2 separate regions of the Homo sapiens genome follow, and region 2 is linked to region 1. Evidence: promoter capture Hi-C in 16 types of primary human blood cells and fetal thymus (Javierre and others, 2016). All regions are on one chromosome and are shown on one strand. Each heading gives the region's core, a stretch centred on a gene start or on the middle of the fragment in contact. The rest is flanking DNA. Distances are from core to core; before and after follow the strand shown. Region 1 holds the start of CACNG5 (calcium voltage-gated channel auxiliary subunit gamma 5). Region 2 has its middle 14 kb from the start of APOH.

What was found. The method cuts DNA at HindIII sites, captures the fragments that hold promoters and counts their contacts. A CHiCAGO score of 5 or more calls a contact.
Region 2: a contact is called between a fragment that was not itself captured here and the fragment with the promoter of CACNG5 in region 1, in 1 of 17 cell types (M1 macrophages). The highest score is 6.0, in M1 macrophages.

Annotation. Positions count from the first base shown.
Region 1 is chr17:66,832,112-66,837,649 of GRCh38, forward strand. It overlaps CACNG5 (calcium voltage-gated channel auxiliary subunit gamma 5), which reads left to right and starts at 3,006. Exons shown (of 6, transcript NM_145811.3): 1 at 3,006-3,139. The HindIII fragment of the contact is 6,143 bases long and covers 1-5,538 here.
Region 2 is chr17:66,240,398-66,245,935 of GRCh38, forward strand. No RefSeq gene overlaps it. Among named protein-coding and RNA genes, the nearest start is that of APOH, 14 kb to the left of the region's middle. The HindIII fragment of the contact is 2,857 bases long and covers 682-3,538 here.

The DNA.
Region 1 (5,538 bases), core at 1,756-4,255:
CCTGATCACAGACCTGAGGGCCTGAGGGCCAAGCTCCTTACAAGAACTGGGAGCCTCTCCCACTCTGGCCCCAGTTGTCTCTTCAGTTTTGTCTCCCTCCATTTCCCATGCCCACCCTACCTCAGACCATTTGCCTTTCCCTGAATGTAATTTCATATTCTCAGGCCTTCGTCTAGGATGACCCCTTTGCCTGAAACTCCCTTCCCAGCCCTCTGTCTACCTGGTGAATTTCTATTTATCATTTACGGCCAGATCAGAGGAAGGGAAACTAACTTTTGCTGAGAGCCCCCAATGTGTCAGACCCTTGTGCAAACATGATCTCGCTTTCGCAAACCAGTGAGGTTGGCGTTATCACCAGCATCAGAGACATAATTTTATGGAGTCCGGTGCAACAATTAAGATGTAGCCCCTTGTTGAAAACTGATTAAGAATTTCGAGATGGCAAAATCAGATCATCAAACCAGGCACAGAGCTTTCCTAAGAGCAAGGCTTTGAGAACCATGAAGCCAGCTTTGGTTATCGAGAAGTGAACGAAAGCTCAGAGAGGTTAAGTAACTTGTCCAAGGTCACACAGCTAGTTGGGGCAGAGCCACGTTGAAGACCTCATTCCATCAGATCCAAATTGCTGTTTTTCAACCACCCATGTTGTGGGGACTTCCCCACTTGCCTTGGGCAGAATGACTGGGGAGGAGGCTTTGAGCACCCCTGGACACTATCTTCCTTTTTTTTTTTTTTTTTTTTTTTTTGAGATGGAGTCTTGCTCTGTCACCCAGGCTGGAGTGCAGTGGCGCAATCTCGGCTCACTGCAAGCTCTGCCTCCCAGGTTCATGCCATTCTCCTGCCTCAGCCTCCCGAGTAGCTGGGACTACAGGCGCCTGCCACCATGCCTGACTAATTTTTTTGTGTGTTTTTTAGTAGAGATGGGGTTTCACCATGTTAGCCAGGGTGGTCTTGATCTCCCGACCTCATGATCTGCCTGCCTTGGCCTCCCTAAGTGCTGGGATCACAGGCATGAGCCACCGCGCCCGGCCACTAGCTTCCCTTTTGAAGGGTGTTTTCTGCAACCAATTGATCTGTTATTTCTCCATAAGCATTGCAAGATGATCCAGAGAATAGGGTCACACAGATCAAAAAGGGGGCCTATCTAGGGGGCAAGTGGACATTCTGGGATTGTTCAATTAACCCACAAGGGAGGACATTCCCTCTTCCACCCACCCCTTTCCTCACACCCAACACCAGGCAGTCTGCTCACCCCCACTCCATACACTTACTCTTCAATGGCTGGAGGACATGGCGACGGCCCGCAGAGGTGACCCACAGGGCATGGATCCCAGGCCAGCCTCTCTGGCCTTTGCTGGGAAAATGACCTGCAGACTTTGCAAAAGGCACATCTCCTGGGTGCTTTGCCCGTTTTCATCTTTTCATTTCATTGATCCAGCCACCTCTGAGGTTTTCTTTGGTGGTTTTCTCCTTGACAGCTTTAGTCTTGGGGAGATGTGTCCAACTTCCAGTCATTCATTCAGCAAATACAATGTGCCTACTATGCGTCAGACTTTCTCCTTTTAAGGGGCTCCCAGCATAGTTAGGGAGATTGACAGTAAATTCATCATTGCCATACTGGTGAGAGCTGTGCAAGAGGCTCCTGGGCCCAGAGACGAAGAAGAAGAAATCCATTCTTGGATTTCCATCAGGGTATTCTGGGGGATAGAGAAGAACACTCTTGGGGTAGGTGGGAAAAGGGAGAAAAAGCGGAAAACTGCATAGGCCTAAAATGCTGTGAATAGACACGTGGTGTATCCTTTCCAAAAACCTTCAGTTGTCCCAACTCCACCTGGCCCCATTCACATGTGACAAAGTCCTCCCATGTCAGGAGACCTCAGCAACATAGATGCTTCTATAAAAGTTTCTGCCCTACAGTTTTAAACTAATATGTTCACTGCTGATGTCTCATTATTTAGCAACCAACTTTGCCCCCAAATATTTCCACATGCCACATCTTTGACCCCCTCTTGGTCTGCAGGGATTTTACAGGCCTTTGAGGGGAAGCTGCTGGTCTGTGAGCATCTGCACAAGTGTGCCGGACAAAGATATCGGTCAGGCTGCCATTTCAAAGCAATAAAAGATATGTGGCTATGCAGGCCAGGAAGAGTTAGCCCTTGGGTTCCCCTTCCAACCTGGCTGACCACACTGGCTCCAGCTGCCACTTTCAAATTAGTCATAGATTAACAAACATCTATTGAGCACCTATTGGGTGTCCAGGACCCAGAGACTAAAGGAGACATAGAACCTAAGAAAGGAAGAAATGTTTTATTGTTAGTTGCCACCATTTATTGGACATATATTACCATTTTACTGTTAAGAGGGACAAACACTTTGCTTAAGGCCACACAGTACAAAAGCAGAGTGGGGCTTTAAAGGCTCAGATTCTGCACTTAGACAGGCCTGAGCTGCAGTCCTGGCTCTGCCATTTTCCAGCTGTGTGTCCTCAGACTCCTCACTTAAGCGCCCTGTGCCTCAGTCTTCTCATCTGTAAAATGGGATTCGTGTGAGAATTAAATGACTTAATACATGTGAAGCTCATTGAACGCTTACACTAGTAAGTGCTCAATAAATACTAGCTGGCATTGTTGTTCTATCACCATCATCATCATCATCATCATCATCATCATCCTTATTTAAAAGCAGCAGCAACGGCAGAGGCTGCAGCCCCAGCTGCTGGAATTTGAAGGTGAGTCTGACTCCAGGCAGGGTCTCCCAGCCCTATGCGGACTCTGAAAGCCTCTCCTCTCCCACGCCGGCCCCCAACTCTTCACCTGCCACCCCCACAAGGGTGCTCACCCCAGAGGTGCTCACCTCCCGGGCTGGGAGACCGCATCTGACCGGTCCCAAACCCCGCCTGCAGCTGGCAGCGCCGGGGTGGGGAGGCCCCGCCCTCGGCCCCGCCCCCTGCCCGCCCCTCCCTCTCGGGGTCCGGGGCGCGAGCTGCGGCGGCGGCGGCCACGGTCATTGGCGCCGAGCGGTTCCGGCTGACTGGACGGGGCGGGCGTCCCGGGCAGCCTAGCGCGGTACCTCCCGCCCCGCGCGCCCAGCCGGCGAGGGACATTGGACCAGGGTCGGGGGTCGCGGCCGCTCCAGCGAGGTAAGAGCCGGGAAGACCGGGAGAGACCACCTCTTCCATCCTGGGGGGGTCCCTGGGGGACGGTCTCCCACCGGTGCTGGGCCGCGGCGCCGGGCTGCGCCCCCATGACAGCCCAGCCAGGGGCAGGGGCTGGAGAGCCCTAGCGATCGCGCACCCTGGAAGGGGCAGTGTGGTGGGGAGCGCGGGCGTGTGTATGCGCGTGTGCGTGTGTCTGTCTGTCCATCTGTCTGTCCCAAGGATGTATCGGGGGAGATGATGACGCCCCCTCTTTGCAGTCGCTTCTAGGCAATTTACCCATGCCAAAGCTGAGGGCAGACTTTTCCACGACGGACTTGAATGGGGCTGGCAGATTATTATCCGGATAATGCAGGAAGGGATAAGCCCACCACCACCTGTTGAGCTGGGCTGTCGGCCTATGCGGGTCCAACTCCCCGCTTATCACAGCCTGCAGGGTGGCCTCATTTCTCCAGCTCGTGGGACCCGGGGCTTCCTTCTCCCGCCTGTGAGAAGGGTTGATAGGAGGAGGTGTCCCTGCCAGGAGCCACTGAGCAGAGATGGACTCGCGGGGGTGATCAGGGTGGTGCTATGGGGACCCCACCGCAGGTGCTGGGCGTGAGGTGTCAACCACCCAGGCACACCCCAAATTTGGATTTCCCCAATCACTCCAAAACCTCTCATTGTGATTCCCCGATCTTTGCTCTCATCCTAATTTGGCAGTTGATGAAGATGCAGCTCGTTAAAAATGTTAAAGTGAAATCAAATTATCACTTCCTAGGACTGAAAATGATTTGAGAAATAATTCCGGGAGCCTGGCTGGGGAGGAAAGAAGCTCATATTCTGACTAGCTTCTCCAGGGCTGCCCCGGGGCTGCCTCCGGTACCTGCCAGGCACGCCGGTGGTTAAGGAAGCCCTTGTTCCCAGAAAGGAAGGGATTCACCCACTTTGCACTGGATTATCAGTGACTGGGTTAGAGCAGGACCCAGGACAGGATCCCCAAGTGGGAGCTGTCTCAGTTTGACAGATGTCACATACAAGCTGTCACCGAGGCTGGCTTCTGCTCCACATCCATCCTGGGGAACACAAGATGGGGCTTCCCCTCCCAGCCACCTCACACCCATTCCCCTCATTTCCACAAACCTGAAGTCTTGATCAATTAACAGCCAGGATTGCCTGGGTGTGGGTGTGGGACCTTGATTGGCTCTGATGTCCTGGATTCAGAGTATCTCAGGACCACAGGCATCTCAGTGGCAGGTTGGTGGCACCTCTTTGCAGACCCTGTAGCCAGCCCCTCATGCCGAAGTCTCCTGCCTGCCTGAGAAGCCCTAGATCTGCCTCACTTCTCTGCTAACGCAGCCCCTGGAGGTAGCTGGGGGACACCTCATCTCAGGGCCAGGTCCCCAGGGTGCCTAACAGGGTGAAATCTGTGCTTGTGCCTGAGACCTCCCCACCCCCAAACCTCCTCTCTCTTGTCATGTGGAAGGCAGTGGATGTGCTGAGGGGCTGGGTAGTCCAGTTCAACGGAAGATAGAGGTGGCCCTGCTGTGGCTGGGGCTGTTGGTGATGTGAGAACCCCAGCATCCTGGCTGGCTGCACCCCAGGCCCCACAAGCCAACAGCACACTTGAGGGAGCTCAGCCATTCTCAGGCTTGTCAGCTGGGGCTCTGTGACTTGGTGCAGGGGGAGATTGGCTGAATTGTTCACGCTTGTTTGGAAGAGACTGGCCTTAGGTTGTTGTGGAAAACGTCGGCTCCAAACCCTGCTAGGTTCCTGACTGTGTGACACTGGCCAACTTACAGAATGCTTGGAGGCTCAGCCTCCTCACCTGTAAGATGGGTCTGGCAGGGGGTTTTGAGAATCAAGTAAGGTCATGAATGAATGACAGTGTCCATTTTACTGGAGGTGGTTCTGGGCTGGTGTTGTGGCCTCTGCTTTCTCTAGCCCCCAGCTTGACTCTCTGACATTGGACTTGAGGGAAGTGGCTGTGTAGCTAGGATCCCTCATGCCATCCTTAGAGGTGGGGGAAGAGGTGTGAATTTTAGTAGCAGGGTAGCTCACAGATTGAGCTTGGATTCCCAAAAAGTGAGGATGGAGGATGTAACCCAGTCTCCAGCAAACTCTGCCTCTGCAGGGAGCTGGCACTTCTGTCCCCAGCTTCTGCCCCGAGCCATTGGTGTCCTGGGCCCACCCCACACAGCCTTCTGGCTCACTGACACTTGGCACATGCCTGCTCTGTCATCTTCTTCTGAGTTTTGGGCCAGTCCTACTCCCTGGCAGAATTGGGACTAGCTACTTAAGACTTCAGGGGCACCAGGACAACCCCTGCCCACCAAATATCATCCTGTTCCCCCAAACCTAGCCATCTGATGCTTAATATCCCACCATTAGAGACTTATGACTGT
Region 2 (5,538 bases), core at 860-3,359, 590 kb before region 1:
TGCCTGTAATCCCAGCACTTTGGGAGGCCGAGGCAGGTGGATCACATGAGACCAGGAGTTCGAAACAAGCCTGGTCAACATGAAGAAACCCCGTCTCTACTAAAAATAAAAAAAAATTAGCCAGGCATGGTGGTGCACGTCTGTAATCCCAGCTACTCAGGAGGCTGAGGCACGAGAATCGCTTGAGCCCAGGAAGTGGAGGTTGCAATGAGCAGCAATAGTGCCATTGCACTCTAGCCTAGGTGACAGAGTAAGACTCTGTCTCAAAAAAAATTAAAAAAAAAAAAACGAAGTACAGTATAAACCAAGTCCATAAAATGTCAGGAGCTCAGCTGACTAAACTAAATCCAAGATGTGATAAAGATCAGAAAAAATGCAAAGACAATAAAGTGTAGAAGTCAGGATGGAAAGAGGAAGGAAGAGTTATTGTATTTCACAAGGAAGATGATTCGTACATATGGAATTATACTTTTCTCATTATGAGAGTAATACAGTATCATTTAAATCAATCTGGAAAACAAACAGGAAATGACTAAAAATCCTATAATATCACCATTTAGGGTTATTTCTTTTCAGCATTTGTATATGTCATAATCAGAATTGGAATCATATTCGGTATATTGTTGTATATTTTATTTTCATATCATGAGCACTTTCCCAGATTATTATTTGTGTCTTCAAAGCTTGCTTTTTTCTTTAATGTCTACACAATCTTACATCATGTAGATGCTCTCTATTTTGACCATTTCTTTACTTTGGGATATTTGGGTGCTATCTTTCACCATTATGAATAAAGGTACAGTTAAGATTCTTTTTTTTTTTAAGTGAAAGTAAGTTTATTAGGAAAGTAAAGGAGTAAAAGAATGGCTTCCCCATAGGCAGAGCAACCAAGATTCTTTTACAAATTTTTTTTCATTGAAACAGAGTCTTGCTCTGTCACCCAGGCTGGAGTGCAGATGCAATGGTGCTATCTTATTCACTGCAACTTCCGCCTCCTGGGTTCAAGCTGTTCTCCTGTCTCAGCCTCCCAAGTAACTGGGATTACAGGTGCCCACCACCCATACCTGGCTAATTTTTTGTATTTTTACAAAAGCAGGGTTTCACCATGTTGGCCAGACTGGTCTCGGATTCCTGGCCTCAAGTGATCCGCCCACGTCAGCCTCCCAAAGTGCTGGGATTATAGGCATAAGCCACCTCACTCGGCCCTTTTATAAAATTTTTGAATAAATTGTTTCCTTAGGATAGAGTCCTAGATGTGGAATTACTTAAGCAAAGGGTAAAACATTTAAGAATCTTCAAACATACTGCCTAGTTGCCTTCCTGAAAGGTTAGCCCAATTTTTGTTCCGATTTACAAGGATGAAGTTTCTAAACCTAAGGTTGAAAGCTGACAAAGAGAGAGACCGATTATTTAATTGTTAGTTTTCTTCTGACTTATTGGTAGAGTTTGAATATTTGTGCCCCCAAATCTCATGCTGAAGTGTAATTCCCAGGGTTGAAGGTGTGACCTGGTGAGAGGTGAATGGATTATGGGCAGATTTCTCAGGAATGGAGTAGCACCATTTCCTTGGCACGTGTGAGTTGAGTCCTCATGAGATCTGGTTGTTTAAGTGTGTGGCACCTCCTCCCAGCTCCTTCTCTTGCTCCCTGCTCCCTCTTCACCTTCTACCATGAATAAAATTTCCTGGAGGCCTCTCCAGAAGCCCAGCAAATGCTGGCTGTGTAAACAGCCTGCAGAACCATAAGCCAATTAAAACTGTTTTCTCTGTAAATTTTCTAGTCTCAGATATTTCTTCACAGCAACCCAAGAACAGACTAAAACACCTATATAGCAAAAAAAAAAAAAAAAAAGAAAGAAAGAAAGAAATTACACTCACACTGAAAAATAAAAATGTATATCAGGAAGATGGAATAAAAGTCCAGCTAGAAAATAATACAAGAAACTAGCTGTCCAAAATGAATTTAGGGGCTAGAAACCCAGGAAAACATATTCCAAGTTGTTAAAACGTGTAATTGTGACCCTGGGAAGTTCACTATCAACAATATTTACAATATAGGATGGTAAGGAGGACAATCTAATAAAATGAAAATTGTATTTTAAAATTCATGTACAATTGGCTGGGTGAGGTGGCTCATGCCTGTAATCTCAGACCTTTGGGAGGCTGAGGCTGACAGATCATTTGAGCTCAAGAGTTTGAAACCATCCCGGGCAACATAGTGAAACCCCATCTCTACCAAAAATACAAAAATTAGCCACGCATGGTGGCACACGCTTGTAGTCCTAGCTACTCAGGAGGCTGAGGCAGGAGGATCACTTGAACTCAGAGGCAGAGGTTGCAGTCAGCTGAGATCACACAACTGCACTCCAGCCTGGGCAACAGAGCTAAAACCTGTCTCAATTAAAAAAAATACATGTACAACACTGTGATACTGTTAAGAATATATACCCACATACACAAACCTGCACATTCTGCACATGTACCCTGGAACTTAACATAAAGATTTTCTTTTTTTTGAGATGGGGTCTCTCTCTCTGTTGCCAGGCTGGAGTGCAGTGGTGCAATCTCGGCTCACTGCAACCTCAGCCTCTCCAGTTCAAGAGATTCTCCTGCCTCAGCCTCCCAAGTAGCTGGGACTACAGGTGTGTGCCACCACACCCAGCTAATTTTTGTATTTTTAGTAGAGATGGGGTTTCACCATGTTGGCCAGATGGTCTCCATCTCTTGACCTTGTGATCCGCTCAACTCAGCCTCCCAAAGTGCTGGGATTACAGGCGTGAGCCACCATGCCCGGCCTAAAAATTTTTTTAAAAAGAATATATCTAGAAAAAATGCTGGAAGTTAGTGTACCAAAATATTGAGTATTTGAGTTAGAAGGAGATTTTTTTTTCTTGTTTTCTCTGCTTCCAAATTTTATGTAATGTGTTTGTATTATTTCATGATGGGAGAAAAAAACATTTTCAAAAACGATGAACACAAAGATGCCTGAAGACACAGAAGGAAAAGCAATAGATTCTGACAGCCAAGCCTCAGTAAGTTTGACATAAATCCACAGCCCAATGGTATGAATTGTTAAACAAATGGTTTATGGGTATGTAGATGAATGTGAAATGATGACTGAAAAATAATATGAACTCTCTTCAAAACATTTGAAGGTTTCAACAAATTAAATCCAATTATGTTTTTTGACATTGTTATTAGGTTAGTAGAAAAGGGCAACACTTTAGCTACAATGTATATCCCTCTTTTAGTAAAGCATTTGATGAGTTATCTACTGGCATCCTTGGGAGTAAGATACCGAACTGTGGCTTGGGATATGGTACTTCTAAGTGATTTGACAGCTGCTTGTACAAACTGTATATGAAAAGTTCTGCTCAATAGCTATAACATGAAACACCCAAACTCCACAGAGGTTTATTAGCTGCCATAGGTCTAGATTATATGAAAGTAAAATGAGGACTTGGGGAATGATTCATTATTTTTTAAGAGAGTAGAGGCATGAATGTCTCCCACAAATATCATCTATTGCTTTTTGTTTTAAGCTTAAATCTTTTTTTTTTTTTTTTTTTCAGATGGAGTCTTGCTCTGTCGCCCAGGCTGGAGTGCAGTGACACGATCTCAGCTCACTGCAAACCTCCGCCTCCCAGATTAAAGCAATTCTCCTACCTCAGCCTCCTGAGTAGCTGGGATTACAGGCATGCCCTACCACACCTGGCTAATTTTTGTATTTTTAGTAGAGATGGGGTTTCACCATGTTGGTCAGGCTGGTCTCAAACTCCTGACCTTGTGATCCACCCACCTCGGCCTCCCAAAGTTCTGGGATTACAGGTGTGAGCCACTGCGCCCGGCCTTAAGCTTAAATCTTTATATATATTTATTTATATTTATTTTTGAAACAGGGTCTCACTCTGTCACCCAGGCTAGAATACAGTGGGATGATCTCCACTCTCTGTATCTTCAACTTCCCAAACTCAAGTGATCCTCAGCCTCTCAAGTAGCTGGGACTACAGGTGTAAGTCACCACACCCAACTAATTTTGGGTTTTGTTTTGTTTTCTTTTGTTTTTTGGTAGAAACTGCGTTTTGCCATGTTGCCCAGGCTGGTCTTGAACTCCTGGCCTCAAGCAATCTGCCGGCCTCAGCCTCCCAAAGTGCTGAGATTACAGGCTTGAGCCACCCCACCTGGCCTAAATCTTTAAGTTTAAAGTGAGTATGAACACCCACCGATGTTGATTCATACTGGCCTCTTCGAGAGGACCATGGATCTTAAGAAGCAGTCTTATGATATTGTGAAAGTAAAATATCTTCAGCCCCCAAAATCACTAAGGAAACCTCAAGCTGGAAACTGCTTAGGGCAAACTTGCCCCCCATTCTATTCAAAGTCACCCCTCTGCTCACTGAGATAGATGCATATCTGATTGCCTCCTTTGGAAAAACTAATCAGAAACTCAAAAGAATGTAACTTCTCTGCTTTGAGTCTTCCTGCCTTTGCTTCAAGTTGTCCCGCCTTTCCAGACCGAACCAATGTACTTCTTACATAAAGCAATTAATGTCTCATGTCTCCCTAAAATGTATAAAGCCAGGCTGTGCCCCGACCACCTTGGGCGCATGTCGTCAGGACTTCCTGAGGCTGTGTCACGGGCGCAGGCACATCCTCAACCTTGGCAAAATAAACTTTCTAAATTAACTGAGACCTGCCTCAGATTTTCTGGGTTCACAATGTCTGGATATGTGAACAAGCAAAAATACGTCAAGGAGCTTGACAGATGACTGCCCTTGTCTCCTAGATCAAAGGAAATTCAACTTATTATTTAACCTGTCAAGAATATCTGTGCTTTCCCCTTTGTTTCTATGTGTTCTCTCATTAATTTTCTTCACCATGGCATGTCCCCTTCATCTACTGGCTCTGTTTGAAAACCTTCACTTTTGTCTGTCTGCCAATATCCCACAGCTAAGGAACCTCACACTACATACACACAAATATACTCCTCTACCCCCCAGTTCATTATTTTAAAAGCTGACAGTTAAGAAAAAATTTCAGGCCAGGCACACTGGCTCACGCCTGTAATCCCAGCACTTTGGGAGGCCGAGGTGGGGGGATCACCTGAGGTCAGGAGTTTGAGACCAGCCTGCCCAACATGGTGAAATCCTGTTTCTACTAAAAATACAAAAATTAGCCCGGTATGGTGGTGGGCACCTATAATCCCAGCTACTCGGGAGGCTGAGGCAGGAGAATTGCTTGAACCTGGGAGGCAGAGGTTGCAGTGAGCAGAGATTGCGCCACTGCATTCCAGCCTGGGCAACAGAGCAAGACTCCATCTTGGAAAAGAAAACGAAGAAGAAAAAATTTCAAGAATAAGACAATAGGCTGGATGCAGCAGCTCACACCTGTAATCCCAGCACTTTGGGAGGCCGAGGCAGGCGGATCACCTGAGGTCAGGAGTTCAAGACCAGCCTGGCCAACATTATGAAACCCCATCTCTCCTAAAAATACAAAAAATTAACTGAGTGTAGTGGCGCATGCCTGTAATGCCAGCTACT